4 separate regions of the Homo sapiens genome follow, and all the other regions are linked to region 3. Evidence: promoter capture Hi-C in 16 types of primary human blood cells and fetal thymus (Javierre and others, 2016). All regions are on one chromosome and are shown on one strand. Each heading gives the region's core, a stretch centred on a gene start or on the middle of the fragment in contact. The rest is flanking DNA. Distances are from core to core; before and after follow the strand shown. Region 1 holds the start of LOC105378464 (a long non-coding RNA gene). Region 2 has its middle 44 kb from the start of LINC02620. Region 3 holds the start of CFAP58-DT (CFAP58 divergent transcript). Region 4 overlaps LOC105378464 (a long non-coding RNA gene).

Region 1 (3,675 bases), core at 287-2,786, 210 kb after region 3:
AATTCCTGAACTCAGGCAATCCGCTTGCCTTGGCCTCCCAAAGTGTCAGGATTACAGGCGTGAGCCACCATACCCAGCTGACATTTTCATTTCTGTAAAAAAGGCTGTTAGAATTTGGATAAGGATTGCATTTGTAGATCATTTTGGGTAGGTTATTCATCCATCCAGGCAAACACTATTCATTTTCTGTCTTTATGTGTCATCCTGTGCTAAAGGTCATGGGAGCAAGGGTCTGTAAGGATGATTGAGATTTGATTTCTATTTCCAGGTAACTTTGTTTTTTAACAAACTTCTTTTTTTTTTTTTAAGTGGCTTTTCTGGTGTATTCTTTCTTTTTAATTGAGATGAAATTCACACGACATAAAATTAACCATTTAAAGTGAACAATTCACTGGCATTTAGTACATTCACAATGTTGTGTAAACACCGCCTACCTCTACCTACGTCTAAAACAGTTGCCTCATACCCTATGAAAGTAAAGTAAAGAAAGTAGTTACTCCCTATTCCTCCCTCCCCTAGCCCTTGGCAACCACCAATGTGCTTTCTGTTTCTATGGATTTACCTATTCTAGATATTTCGTATAAATGGAATCATACAATAAGCTACTGTGCCTGGCTGGCATTTTCATTTCTGTAAAAAAGCTGCTAGAATTTCGATAAGGATTGCATTTGTAGATCACTTCGAGTAGTATTGCCATCTTAACAATAGTAAGTTTTCCAGCTCATGAACATGAGGTATCTTAACACTTATTTAGGTCTTTCAACAATGTTTTGTGGTTTTCAGCATACAAGTTATTCGTCCTGGTTAGATTTATTTGTAGGTATTTTATTCTTTTCATGCTATTGTAAATGAAATTGTTTTTCTTAATTCACTTTTCAGATTGTTTATTGCTGGTGTATCAAAGCACAACTGATTTTTGTATCTTATACTTCGAAATTGTTGAATTGGTTTATTAGCTCTACTAGTTTATTTTGTGGATTCTCTGAGATTTCTTATATGTAAGATAATGTCACCTGTGAATAGAACTAGGTTTACTTCTTCTTTTCCAATTTGGATACTTTTTTTAAAGATTCAAATTTATCTATTTATTTTAATTGACAAATAAAAATTATATGTATTTATCGTGTACAACATGACATGTAAAAATATGTATGCAAGGTGGAATGGCTCAATTGAGCTAATTAGTGTATGCAGTACTACACAAACTTATTTTTTTGTGGTAAGAACACCTAAAATTTACTCTCTTGGGAAGTTTCAAGGGTACATTGTTATTCATTATGGTCACCATGTTGTACAATAAATCTCTTGAACTTATTTCTCCCATCTAACTGACATTTTGTATGTTTTGACCAACATCTCCTCAATCCCTACCCCACAGCACCTGGTAGCTACCATTCTACTCTTTGCTTCTATGAGTTTAACTTTTTTATATTCTACGTGTAAGTGAGATTATGCCGTATTTGTCTTTCTGTGCCTGGCTTATTTCACTTAACATAATATCCTCCAGATTCATTCATGTCATCACAAATGACAGGATTTTTTTCTTTTTAAAGGCTGAATAGTATTCCATCATGTATATATATACCACATTTTATGTATCCCTTGATGAACATGTAGGTTAATTCCATATCTTGGCTGTTGTGAATAATGCTGCAGTGAACATAGGAGTACAGATACCTCTTCAACATACTGATTTTATTTCCTTTGGCTATATACCTGGCGGTGGAGTGGTTGGATTCTAGAGTAATTCTATTTTTAATTTTTTGAGGAATCTCCATACTATTTTCCATAATATCTGTACTAATGTACATTCTTACCAGCAGTATACAGAGGTTTTCTTTTCTCCGCATCCTTGCCAGCACTTGTTATCTTTTATCTTTTTGATATAATCATTCTAACAGGTATGAGGTGATATCTCATTGTGGTTTTAATTTGTATTTTGCTGATGCTATGGTCTGAATGTTCATGTGTGCCTCAACATTTATATGTTAGAATCTAAAACCGACTGTGATAGTATTAAGAAGTGGGTTTTTTGGGAAATGAGTAAGTCATGAGGGCTTCACCCTCATGAATGGGATTAATGACCTCATAAAAGAGAATCAAAGGACCGCCCTTATCCCTTTCTTCATGTGAGCACACAGCCATTTTTGAAGCACAGAACAAGTCTTCATCAGACACAGAATTTGCTGGCACCTGGATTTTGGACTTTCCAGTCTTATGAACTGTGAGCCATACATTTCTGTTGTTTATAAATTATTCAGTCTAAGGTATTCTGTTACAGCAGTAGGAACAGACTGAGACATCTAATGATTACTGAAGTTGAACATTTTTTCATATACCTGTTGACCATTCATATGTCTTATTTTGAGAAATGTCTATTTAGGTCCTTTGGCTCACTTTAAAATCAGTCACTGGTTCTCTTACTATAGAGTTGTTTGAGTTTTTTATATGTTTGGGATATCAATTCCTTATCAGGTGTATGGTTTGCAAATACATTCTTCCAATTCGTGGGTTGTCTCATCACTCTGTTTATTATTTCCTTAGCTGTGCAGAAACTTTTTAGTTTGATGTAGTCTTGTCTATTTTTGCTTTTGTTGCCTGTGCTTTTAGGGTCATGTGTAAAATATAATTGCCCATGCTGATGTCATGAAATTCTACCTCTATGTTTTCATCTAGTAGTCTTACAGTTTCAAGTCTTATGATTAAGTCTTAATCCATTTTGAGTTAGTTTTTATATATGGTATAAGATAGGATCTAATTTCATTCTTCTGCATGTGGCTATGCTCTTGTGACAACACCACTTATTGAAAGGCCCGTCGTTTCCCCACTGTGTGTTCTTGGCAACTTTGTCAAAAATTAATTGACCATACATATGTGGATTTATTTCTGGATTATCTAATTCTGCTTCAATTATCTATTTGTCGGTTTTTACACTAGTACTATGCTGTTTTGACTACTATAGCTTTGTAGTATATTTTGAAATCAGGTAGTGTGATGCCTCCAGCTTTGTTTATTGTGCTCAACATTGCTTTGGTTATTCAGGCTGTTTTGTGGTTCCATATACATTTTAGGACTTTTTTTTTCTATTCCTGTGAAGAATGTCATTGGTATTTTGATATGAACTGCACTGAATCTGTAGATTGCTTTGGGTATTACAGTATGAACATTTTAACAATATTAATTCTTCCAATCCATGAACATAGGATATCTTTCCATTTATTTGTGTTTTCTTCAATTTCTTTCATCAATGTTTTATAGTTTTCAGTGAGTAATTCACTTCTTTGGTTAAATTTTTTCTTAGGTATTATATGTTATTTTGTAACTATTATAAAGGGGATTGCCCTCTTGATTTATTTCTTGGAAAGTTCATTGTTAGTGTATAGAAATGCTATTGATGGTTATGCTTTATTTCTTTTATAATTGCTTTGTATAGAACTTCCAGTACAATATCGAATAACAGTAGTAAAAGTAGGAGTCTTTGTATTGTTCTTGATCTTAGGAGTAAAGATTTCAGTTTTTCGTAATGGAGTATGATGTTAGCTGTGGTTTTCTCATAAATGCCCTTTATTATGTGAGGAAGTTCTTTCTATTCCTACTTTTCTGTGAGTATTTTCTTAAAAATCAAAAAATGTTAGATTTTGTCAACTACTTTTTCTGCATCAGTTAGGATGACTA
Region 2 (3,595 bases), core at 225-2,724, 170 kb after region 3:
GCTCTGAGCCTGGGCGTCTTGCCAGAGCTGCCAACACGAAGTTGCATTTTGTCGTCTGCTCCCTTTGCCTGATTTAATACAACCTTAAATAATAATGGAGCAGGGAGAAGAGGGGCGAGGGAGAAACAACCCAGCCAAGAATCTGTGTAACAATCTCATCAAACCTGGGGTTTTCCCTTTGCTTTTTGAGAAGCAACTTCTCCTCTGATGTAAACATTTTTTTTTTAAATGATGATTCTGGGCTGAGTGGCACCAGGAGCCATCGCTTGGTGCTTTTCTCCAGCTCCCTCTGGTCCTCAGAGGAGGCAGAACAGGGCCTGTAACCATGGCAATTCTCTAATGTTCTTTCATAAACCATAAATATAGGGGAAGGCTTCATTACAGCTCCTTCAAGAAGAAAACAAAGCTTTCCCTGAATGGGGCAGGGCAGGGTGGCGGGGGGAGAGGGGAGGAGAAGGGAAGAAGGAAGACTTTAGGCTTTTTTTTTTTTTTTTTTTTTTTTTTTGCCACAAAGACAAACTGCGTCAGAATTGGCTCAGTTCAGAATGTGGCTCCAGCATTTAAGCAAGATGTAGCCCAGGGCCAGGCACAAAGCAGGCGCTCCTTAAGTATTAGTTGAAAGCAGGAAGGGAGAAAAGCAGGGAGGGAGTGATGTGGAAGGGAGAGGATTTGGAATCACACAGAGTAAATGTGAGTGGCCAGATGAGCCCACATTTTGAAAGGGTTTAATGTTCTGCTGACCTGTCTAACAGGCCCCTTGGAAGAGCAAGATGATGTACAGATTGTCCTACCTGAAGACTGTGGAGGAGAGGAAGGTGTCTCATCTCCCCAGTCTCCAAATCGTCAGCATTAAGAAGTGTTTGTTGAATAAACTGAATAAACAAATGAAGAGATGAGTGGACCAAATTTTTAAATGTCTTGGGAAGGGGTCATAATCATATTGAGAATATAAATATAATGAAAACTATGACTTCTTATTCCGAAATTACACTTATGAAAACACATTTTATGTGTCATTTCAGGATGTTTACAGATACTGATGACCATCCCTAGAATTCATATTGAGAATTTCCGTGCCACATTAACTTCCAGATGTCCTTGGGAAAAGTGTCTACTATGCTGCCTTGGTTTCCTCAATGAGAGTGAGAACAAATGGATCTGAAGAGGTGATCTTGGCCCTAATTTCCAAGTTCTGGGAAGATAAACAGGGTTTTCTTTTGAATCCTTCGGAGCCTGGGAGCTTCAAGAGAAACTCAACTCCAGGCACTTGAACTGACAGAGAATTTAGATTCTCCTCCAGGGAAAGGGGCAGAGCATGGATCCTGGCTTTGAGCCGCCTCCCAGCTTTTCTGTTGTCCTTGAGGCTGCTACGTTAACACTGTCCTTGCTTTGTGTGGTTTTGCTGTTACTACCTGTCCTGTGGATTTCTGACAATTACAAGCCGTGTACCCCACCACACATGCAAGCATTTCTCATTTATTCTGAGTACTTTAAGGACTGCCCAATCTGAATGCAGAGAACTATGTCTCATTCATTTTTGTGTGTCCAGGCCCTCACAGGGTTTGGGGATCCTGATATAGGGTTGGATTCGGTGACCTCTCAAATCCTCTTCAGCACTTTCATGCACAGAAGCCAGCATCCTCTGGACTGTCATTATCCAGTTTTATTAAAGCAGGTTACAATATAAAAGAACCCATCATCAGCCATCATCACTGATCTTGGATAGCTTGCCCTTGGCTGGTGGCCTAAGGATTCCTTTCTTTTTTTACCTATCAAAATCATTCTTGTACATAAGCTGTCCCCCTCCCTGCAAAGTATTCCTTGACTATCATAGACAAAATATGTCACTCCCTTCCCTCTTCCCATGATCTTTGCTTTACATTCAAATGTCACCATTTTATGGATCCATTTGTTTTCTTTATCGGATTGTAAATTCCTTGAGGGTGGAGACTGGATCTAATTCAACATGGTATCCCATGGTTCCTTGCCATGGGATATAGTGAAAATGCAGCAAGTGTGGGACTTGGTGAACAGCGGATAGTTCACTTGCTGCAGAGGATGGGTTTTTCTTTCTCTACCCATGCCCTTTGACTTTGAGTTTGGCCATTGGACTTGCTTTGGCCAATGGGATGCTCACAGACACCATGCAAGTAGAGGCTTAGAACATGTGTATGAACTTGACTTGCCCTCTGTGCTGTTAGGTCTCCTGACCTAAGGAGGAGGATGAGAAACACATGGACCAGACCTGCCCCAGCCAATCCGCAAGCCTGTGAGTGACAAATAAATGCATATTATTGGATGTCACTGATATTTGGAGGTTGTTTGTTTGTTAATGCAGCAACTGTTGCTTAATACAATTGTTAACTTAAAATGTAGGCTGAAAAACATAGGAGGCCTTGTGATGTTCATTGTCTTTATGGGTTGAGGTGGACATTTTAGAAAGAATGAAACAATCAGTGACTTGAAGAAGTGGTTGCTTATTCCTCGAATGGAAGACTGAAGGAAGGAAAAAAATATTTTCCCCCAAATCTTTCCTACAAGCCAAGCTTGTTGCTGCTAAAACCTGAAGGATGATGACTTTTGTGAGGGAAAGAATGAAATGGGGTTTCTTTGAAAAGCAGCACTTTTCCCCCTATAGTTACAAATGGTGTTGTTTTTGTTGTTGTTGTTGTTGTTTTCCCGTTGCTGACTTCTGTGAGTAACTCTGCAGCCTAAAATAATGTCTGTGTGTGCTTGCGAGGGTGTATGGATTTCAGACAAAGAGTCTGACTTAGATGCCTTTTGGAAAATTGGCCCTTTCCGTCATTCCGTCATGGGGTTCCCTGGCCAGCTCACTGGATTACTGCTGGCATAAGGGATGGGACACAAGAGGTGAGGGAGCCTAACTGGGCTTCCATCCTCGCCTGTGGCGTGAGAGTTTTCACACAGTGCACTCTCTTCAAGACCTGGACTTGCCAGAGCATGATAGTGGCCAGGCAAGAGGGTGCATGGTCCTTCTTCAAGCCAAACTTCTCACCCACTTCTAATCCGCAGCAGTTCCCAAGGAACTGGAGCCCAGTGCTGGGGCCTGAAAGTCATCCTGTGGGGCCTTGTGGTGGCCACAGCTGGGATGGCAGTTTTACTTAGCATCTACTACGTGCCAGGCTCTGCCAGACACAAAAGCAGCCCCCTCATCCTCTGCTCTCAAGGAGATTATGCCTCTGGGGGAAGATGGATATTGATAAGTAGTCACACAAATTAATGTAAATTTGTAACTGTGACAGGTGCTCCACAGGACTCTAAGAGCAAATAAGAGAGCCACTTGCTTTGGGGCAGCAAGGCAGGAAGATGGTTTCTGATGCCTCATCTTGCCACTCAAAGCCTTTGTCTTACCAAGGTCATAGCTACTCCGTATGGAGTTGTTGTGCACCCATTCTGCCAGGCACCCAGTCTGCCAGGCCCTCTCATGCCCCCAGTGACCTGCAGGAGCATACCCAGTGGCCCTGTTCCTCAGCCCCACGTCACTTCGTTCCTCCTTGATTCTCAGCCATCTTCTCACAGCTTTGAGACAACAGTCTGGACCTGCCTCCCTGAGTTGCGTGGCCAGTGTTGCTGA
Region 3 (3,570 bases), core at 438-2,937:
TCTTCTAAAGCAGATTGATGTCCAGGCTTCTCAAAGATATCTGTAAATCAAAAGAAAAAGAAAAAAGATCAATAGAAAAATAGACACAGACACTGAAAAGGCAGTTCACAGAAGGGAATCTCAAGTAGCCTATGAATGTATAAAGAAATGGTCAAAAAATTCACTAGTAGTTAGAGAAGTGAAAATGAAAGCAAAAAATGAGCTTACACTACTTTCATCATATTGACAGAAATTAGAAAATTAGCTAATTAGATGAGTCAATATTTGCAAAGCACTTAGAATAGTATCTGGTATTTACTAAACACTTTATGAGTGTTTAATAAAAAAGACCTATCACCTTCTGGAAGGGATGGATGGAAGTGTTGGATGGAAACCCCACACTGGAGTGCAGCGTAGGGCAGTAACTCTGGTACACAATCTTAAAGTGCTTGGTAAGTACCCAGGGCTTGTACTAGGCTACTGGGCATCGTTGTGCTCTTGGAAAACTGTTCATCTGGCCAGATGAGTTTGAAAATATCACACCCTCTAGATAGTTACAGCCTTCTAGGTTCATGACTTGGCTGGCGTACAGAGATTTTGTGAGAATAAAAAGTGCACACCTTTCTCCAGTAGGGCACATGGCACGGGAAAGAGAGTAGAGACAGTTTTTCAGCCTCCATTGCCCCATGGCTGGATGTGTTTGTGCAGGACGCAGCTGCATAAGCAAATGTCCCTGTGCATCCCTATAACTTTAACAATCTTACTCCTTGGCATATATTTCAGAGGAATTTGCACAGAGGTCCTTAAGGGACCACGGACAAAGACGATCATGGCTGTATTACTTGATGTATTGGAGAATTAGAGGCGGCCTTGTTACCTAACACCTGGGGAATGGAAGTGAAGTGTGGTAGATGCCCCTTATGAAACGCTGTGCAGTACTCAGAAGCAATGAACTATATGCTTGCCAATCGCAACGAGGACAGATCCTTAAAAAGAATGTTGAGTGAAAAAAGTAGAAAATAAGATAATCTCCAAAGTCCAGTAGCATTATTTAAACATTTTTAAAAAATACACTGATAAAAATTTTGTACATTTCCCAAAAATACATATGGAAGCACAGCAGCATGAATGCCTATGGGGTTGAGGATAGGGGTTGGGAGTAGGGATGGGGATAAAGGGGGAAAATAAAACCAGAGAGGAGTCTTACACATTTCATGAACCAAGGAGTATAATTATTTCAACTATTTGTACCTGAAGTCCAGAAAGAGTGGAGGCAGAAGGGGGAGAAGAGGGCGAAGAAACGTTTTTGGGAGAGGGGTCCCAGAAGAGAGATTTTCGCGATGTGGCGCTACATACGTTTTTCCAGGATGCCTTAAGCTCTGCACCCTATTTTTCTCATCACTAATATTAGATTAAACCCTTTGAAGACAGCGTCTGTGGTTTCTCTACTTCAGCTTTCCCTCCGTGTCTTGCACACAGTAGCTGTTTTACAAGGGTTGAACTGACTGAAGTGAGATTATTCCTCGTTGTCTCGGAAGGCAGAGTGTAGCCGCCAGTCCTTCCCTCATCCGGAACCTTCTGGTCCACATTTCCTTCCAAGCGTTAGTCCTCGGCTCTCCATGCTTGGCTCCCTAGTGTCACACACCGTCCTTTCTGGGTGGCCTCTTCCAATTCGCCCTCTTCTTTCTCCTGGGTGTCTCCATCTGCCCACACCGTGGGACTCCTCCCAGCCTCTCAGGGGCACCGCCCCCTCACTTCCTTGGCTCCGCCCCATTGGGATATATTTGCATATTTCTCTGAGGAACCCTGCCCAGGTGCCAGCCGCAGAAGCTCCTCCCCTTTCGAATTCCCGCTAGCGCCCCTAGAGGGCGTGTCCGTTGCCAGGCGACGGGCCGACGCGCCGAGCGCGGGTTTCCGCTCGGGGCGGGCGATAGAGACAGCGCGTCGCGCCTTTAGCTTCTTTCCCAGACTCCGGCCCAGCTCCTGCGATCTCCACAGCAGCCTCTGAGGCCGCCCCCAGAGAGCATCAGGATGGCTGAGGTCAGGAGTCAGCGCCCCTCTGTCGCCTTTCCCTTGACCCCTCCCCATTGTCCCTCTCCTACTGACGATTGTCACAAACGGTGATTCCAATATTTCCCCCCATCAACATCTTATTCCCCTGCACCCTCACTCACTCCCGCGCCTTTCTCCGTTGGCTCTGGCCTCTTTACCTCCTGTTTCTCCTTCATTTGTGTGGACACCCCACTATCCCCACTGTGGCATCGGCGCTATGCTAAGTGCGGTAGAAAATTAATGAATTCTGAAATCCACACGTGACATGCACCCAGCCCTAGATTTTTAGTCATGGAGTGATACCATAAGAGAGGCTCACACAGAAATATTGGAGATGTCTTATCTCACAGGGGAAACCGGGAAGAAAGCTTCACAGATGCCTGCTGTCATCCCAATCAATGGCCCTTGTCCACCTGTCACACCCTGATTTCCTAACATGTGATCACCTGCTGTCACACAGCTTCATTAAGGCTCTTCTGCCCATCACCTCTGCCCCGTGTGTTCATTGACTCCTGTGTTAACATCTCGTATCACCCCACCACTCCCCCATATTACAGTACACCCCATTTTCAGCCTCTCCAATGAGGGGTTATTTCTGCAACCCTTCAGTGACTCCCTGCCTGCCCCTTAGCCCCCTCACGTATAACCTCAAGAGCCTCGGGTCCCTGTCATTACTTGCCATTCACAGTCCCCATCCACTATGGCCCTACCCAAATCCTTCATGGCCCCATCAGAGCCCTTCCCCCATCACCCATCCCACGGTCTGTTCCAGCCAGGACCAGCTACATGATTTGCAAGGCCTGATGCAAAGTGAAAACACAAAGTCTCTTCAAAAATTACAAATAATTTTAAGACAGAACAGCAGAGCATTCAACCAAGAATGGGGCCTTTCTGAGCAAGGGGCCCTGTGCAACTGACCAGTTTTCACTCCCATGAAGCCAGCCCAAGCCCCATCATCTTTCAGCACCATCGTGCTCCACCCCCTCCCCACCCCATTCTAGTTACTCTCTTGCTTCCTCTGCACCATTCACATCCCCTCATCATTGCTTTTCCTCCATCTCCAGTCTAGCTTTATAAATTCCGTCTTCCCGTGGTCAACACCTCCTTCCTTTCCTTATCATACGATCTCTTTCATATCATCCATCTTCCTCACGCCTGGGCTCCATCACTCACATCTCTCTCTGACATCCATGCTGCTGTGGCCACTTCACTTCTCCCCATTACCCATAGTCATTTGTATCTCTTTCTTCCCATTTCCTTTCTTGTTCCTTCTAGTTCTTTATTGTCCCATTATTGCTTTTGAGTGTTTTCTCCTCTTTTCTCCCACCAGTCATCTTTGTTTATTTCATTCTTCATTCCCCATAGGGAAGCCCCAGCCTCCCAGAGGCACCAGCCCCTCATTTCCTTGGCTCTGCCCTATTCAGGATATATTTGCATATTTCTGTGAGGAACCCTGCCCAGGTGCCGGCCTCAGAAGCTGCTCCACTATTATGGATTAGTTATTTCCATTTCCCTCTTTCTGTTACTCCTCTCGTTTCT
Region 4 (3,639 bases), core at 32-2,531, 230 kb after region 3:
TCTTCTCCAAAGGATTAGCTCAAATTCTTCTTGGAAGGGCTTGCAAGGTTTGCAGGAGGGTGCACAGTCGATCTGGGGAGAGAAGTAAACACAAGCAATGAAGATAGTGGAGTGGCCTGGACGGGAAGCTTCTTTTACAAAGGAAGGATGACAAGAGCCCACAGTTCTTATTGTGTAGGTAAAATGAGCCAGGGGCCATGCCAACCGCATCACATGGATTATCACCTTGGATTTTAACAGTAAGCCAAAGTAACAGGTAAACATGTTATTCCCATTTTACAGATAGAAAAATGGAAGTTTACAGAGGTGCAGTGGCTTCTACAAGGTCTCACTGAACCCATACCTTTCCAACTGCAGAATTTGCATGCTCAAACCATTACACTAGGATACGTTTGACAACTTTGCTCCAGAGTCTAGACTGTACTGTAAGATGACTTACAATGCAGCAGCTCCTGACTGCATGCTCAAGACCTTGATTTCTGCAACTCTGAATCCATTTGAGTTTATAAAATGAAAAATGAGCCCCTACTCCCTATTGATCCTAATCCTCATTCATCCCTAGTTTTGCTCATTTTGGCTTAGGCTCCACCTGGAAAACAAAACATTAACCACTGGGCTTTGTTTGCTCTGATGATCCTGCTCTGACCCTCACATAGCACGAGGCACCAAATGTCTGGCACCCTCCCTTGTGCAGAGGAATAAAGAAACCTGAAAACACACTATCATTTCAAAAACAGCCTGCCTGCCACGAAAGTAACAGTGTTCGATGATGCCATTGTATTTCTTCCTCCCTTTCAAAATCAATCTTTAGATTTTAGGCCTGAAAAGTAGGTGCCACTATCTTCTAATGATCTGCCAGGGGTTAGAAACGGAATGCTACACACCACTTAACATGTGAAATATGATTTATCTGTCGGGGCATATATGAAAAAAATGAAAAGAAATATCTAACAATAACCCTTCTGTTGAGTTTTGAAATGTAAATGTTTGCTAATGCTTTGCCGAAGACAGCTTCACTTGGGCTGAGAGCTATGTGTAAAGAAACATTAAAATGCATCATTTGCTCAGGGCTAAAAGTCATCAGCTTGTGATATTAATGCCCTTTAAAAAATAATTTGACGGCATGAAATCAGAGCACACCTTGTGCAAAGGATTGGCTCTTGTCAATTTTCTCGTGGATCTACTGAGCTATAATTGCATTTAGATCTTGCCAAAAATGAAAGTGTTCTTTTTAAAAATTCTCTCCATCTCTCATTTGCTGGAAGAAAGGTAAGGGGGTTAACTTTGATTTCATCTAGTGTGAAAGACCCCTGACCTATAGGCTGGAACATGCTGGTCAGCTAGAGGTCATGGGTTGTTATTGTTGTCTTTTCCTCCATCCTCAGCTCACAGGTTCCCAGCAGGGCTCATCTGGGTGAGTGCTGAGCTTAGGGGACCTGGGAGAGCCCAGTAACTAGATTAAGGCCACTTTGGCTGCAAGTGACAAAACTCTTCTCAAATTGGCTTAAGCAACAAATAGGAAATGTTTAAGGACACAACGGGTATCTTACAGAGTCTGGGGATGGGAAGGAGGTTGAGCCTTAGCCCACCTGGAAGCAGGGGCTGCCACGGATGTGTGCCTCCTGGATGTGTCTGGGGTGGGCTGTGGCTGCTAGTGGCTCCTGGGATGGGGCTGAGCCTAGTGGGGAGAGGGGGAAGATGAGGAGGAGGCGGATTCCATCCAGCTCTGGTCTTCCCTTCCTGCCTCATCTGGGGCAAGACCTCACTTTCTCCTGCAGTGGGTGGTGTAAGGGTTCCATTTGAAATAATGGTTCTGTGGTGAAGAAAGAAATTGGAAATAACTAGATAATTTCTTGGCCTCTTCACAAATTCTATAGCTTTGAGGATTACAACCACTTGATAGTCACAAGTGACAGGAGCGGTGCTTGAAGAATAAGCCATTTCTTCACTCTGTGATCATTTACCCAACAAAGGGGGAGCAGCTGAGGGTCGCAAGGGTAACAGATGAGCAAGGTACAGCAATGGCTGTGAAGGTGCCGCCTGTCTGGTTGCTATTCTGGAGGCTGGGTGTTCCAGGATGTGGTTTTTCACTCAAGGTCTCTGTACTTTCCTTTTATCTTTCTATTAAATTTTTTTTGATAGAATCTTTATATATGCGCGCGCGCGCGCGCGCGCGCGCACACACACACACACACACACACACACACACACACATATACATTGATGCATTTATTTCAACGATTTGTTCGACACATACTTATTGAGTGCCTACCAGGGGTTCCAGGCTCTGCGGATAGAGCAGTGAACAAAACAGAATTGGTGCGCTGTCCTCCTGGAACTAACTGGTTGGGATGGGGTGTGATTGCTTCTGCTTGATGCTGGTATTCCCACTTTCTCATCAGCAGTAAAGTGCCATGGCCATTTGACTCCTCAACAAGCTTAGCCCTGATCTTTAGCAGGCTTGTCAGTCCTTTAAATTAGTTTGGAAGGTTTCAAGTAGTGATTCTTAAAGTGTGTTCTGGAAACTCACATGGGTTATTTTTATCATAAAGCTAAAACACTTGTCTTTTTAAAATCTCTGTCATGAGTGAACAGTGGAGTTATCCAAAGTCTACACAATGTGTGAAATCAAAACAGATTGAATGGAGAAGCAGACATATGACTCCAATTGACTTCTATTAAGCCAGCCAATATAGAGATTTGCAAATAAGCAAAACAATGCCGCTCAATTCACTAGTTTTTTAAATTTTTGAAAATATAGTTATTTTTTAAAAAAACACCTAATTTATATTAACATGTTACACGTTTATGTTAAGGTACAATACATTTATTGTTTTTAATGAATTAGTGTCTTTTTTAAATGCTTTGGTTTTAATTTCAAATATGGTAAATATCAATAGATATAATCCACACAAAATTCTTTGAGGTTCTTAATTTTTAAGAGTGTAAAGGGGGCTGGGCACAGTAGCTCATGGCTGTGATCCCAGCACTTTGGGAGGCCAAGGCAGGTGGATCACCTGAGGTCAGGAGTTTGAAACTAGCCTGGCCAACATGGTGAAACACCGTCTCTACTAAAAAACCAAAAATTAGCCAGTCGTGATGGTGGGTGCCTGTAATCCCAGCTACTCAGGAGGCTGAGGCAGGAGGATCACTTGAAACCAGGAGATGGAGGTTGCAGTGAGATTGCGCCACTGCACTCCAGCTTGGGCAACACAGCCAGATTATGTCTCAAAAAAACAAGAGTGTAAAGGGGTCTTGAGACCAAAAACTTTGACAACTGCTAATTTAGAGGCAAAGGGTATTGCATGTGATGGGAGTCAGCATTCTCAGTAGCAATGAAATTGATTTAAAGCATATTAGAGAAAGAATTGTAAGGAGGCTCTAGAACCAGTCTCAGAAAGCTACCAGGATCTAGGAAAACTAGGAGGTCAGTTGCGGCCAATGTCACAGAACCAGGCTGGTGAGGACATCACTGTGTACTGCTGAGCGCAGGACACCATAGTTTCTCCTCGCTAACCCTGGAGGCACCGCCACCCTGGAAACTAGAGGCTGCTCCTGCCGCCAAACCCTCTGCCATTCCTGATTCTTTTTGTTCCCGGCTCATGTGTGAGGTCTGGGATGGATACATCTCACTGTGGG

What was found. The method cuts DNA at HindIII sites, captures the fragments that hold promoters and counts their contacts. A CHiCAGO score of 5 or more calls a contact.
Region 1: a contact is called between a fragment that was not itself captured here and the fragment with the promoter of CFAP58-DT in region 3, in 2 of 17 cell types (M2 macrophages and M0 macrophages). The highest score is 10.0, in M2 macrophages.
Region 2: a fragment that was not itself captured here is called in contact with the fragment with the promoter of CFAP58-DT in region 3 in 1 of 17 cell types (neutrophils); the score reaches 5.2 in neutrophils.
Region 4: a fragment that was not itself captured here is called in contact with the fragment with the promoter of CFAP58-DT in region 3 in 4 of 17 cell types (M2 macrophages, neutrophils, M0 macrophages and 1 more); the score reaches 8.7 in M2 macrophages.

The regions. Positions count from the first base shown.
Region 1 is chr10:104,564,800-104,568,474 of GRCh38, forward strand. It overlaps LOC105378464 (a long non-coding RNA gene), which reads left to right and starts at 2,147. Exons shown (of 8, transcript XR_007062285.1): 1 at 2,147-2,224. The HindIII fragment of the contact is 9,974 bases long and covers 1-3,675 here.
Region 2 is chr10:104,522,239-104,525,833 of GRCh38, forward strand. No RefSeq gene overlaps it. Among named protein-coding and RNA genes, the nearest start is that of LINC02620, 44 kb to the left of the region's middle. The HindIII fragment of the contact is 2,140 bases long and covers 405-2,544 here.
Region 3 is chr10:104,351,888-104,355,457 of GRCh38, forward strand. It overlaps CFAP58-DT (CFAP58 divergent transcript), which reads right to left and starts at 1,688. Exons shown (of 2, transcript NR_108036.1): 1 at 1,231-1,688; 2 at 1-40. CFAP58 (cilia and flagella associated protein 58) reads left to right here and starts at 1,946. Exons shown (of 18, transcript NM_001008723.2): 1 at 1,946-2,019. The coding sequence starts at 2,011. RefSeq lists enhancers at 159-208, 229-338, 1,616-1,675. The HindIII fragment of the contact is 7,343 bases long and covers 1-2,397 here.
Region 4 is chr10:104,585,345-104,588,983 of GRCh38, forward strand. LOC105378464 (a long non-coding RNA gene) reads left to right here. Exons shown (of 8, transcript XR_007062285.1): 2 at 13-256. Among named protein-coding and RNA genes, the nearest start is that of SORCS3, 54 kb to the right of the region's middle. The HindIII fragment of the contact is 2,310 bases long and covers 127-2,436 here.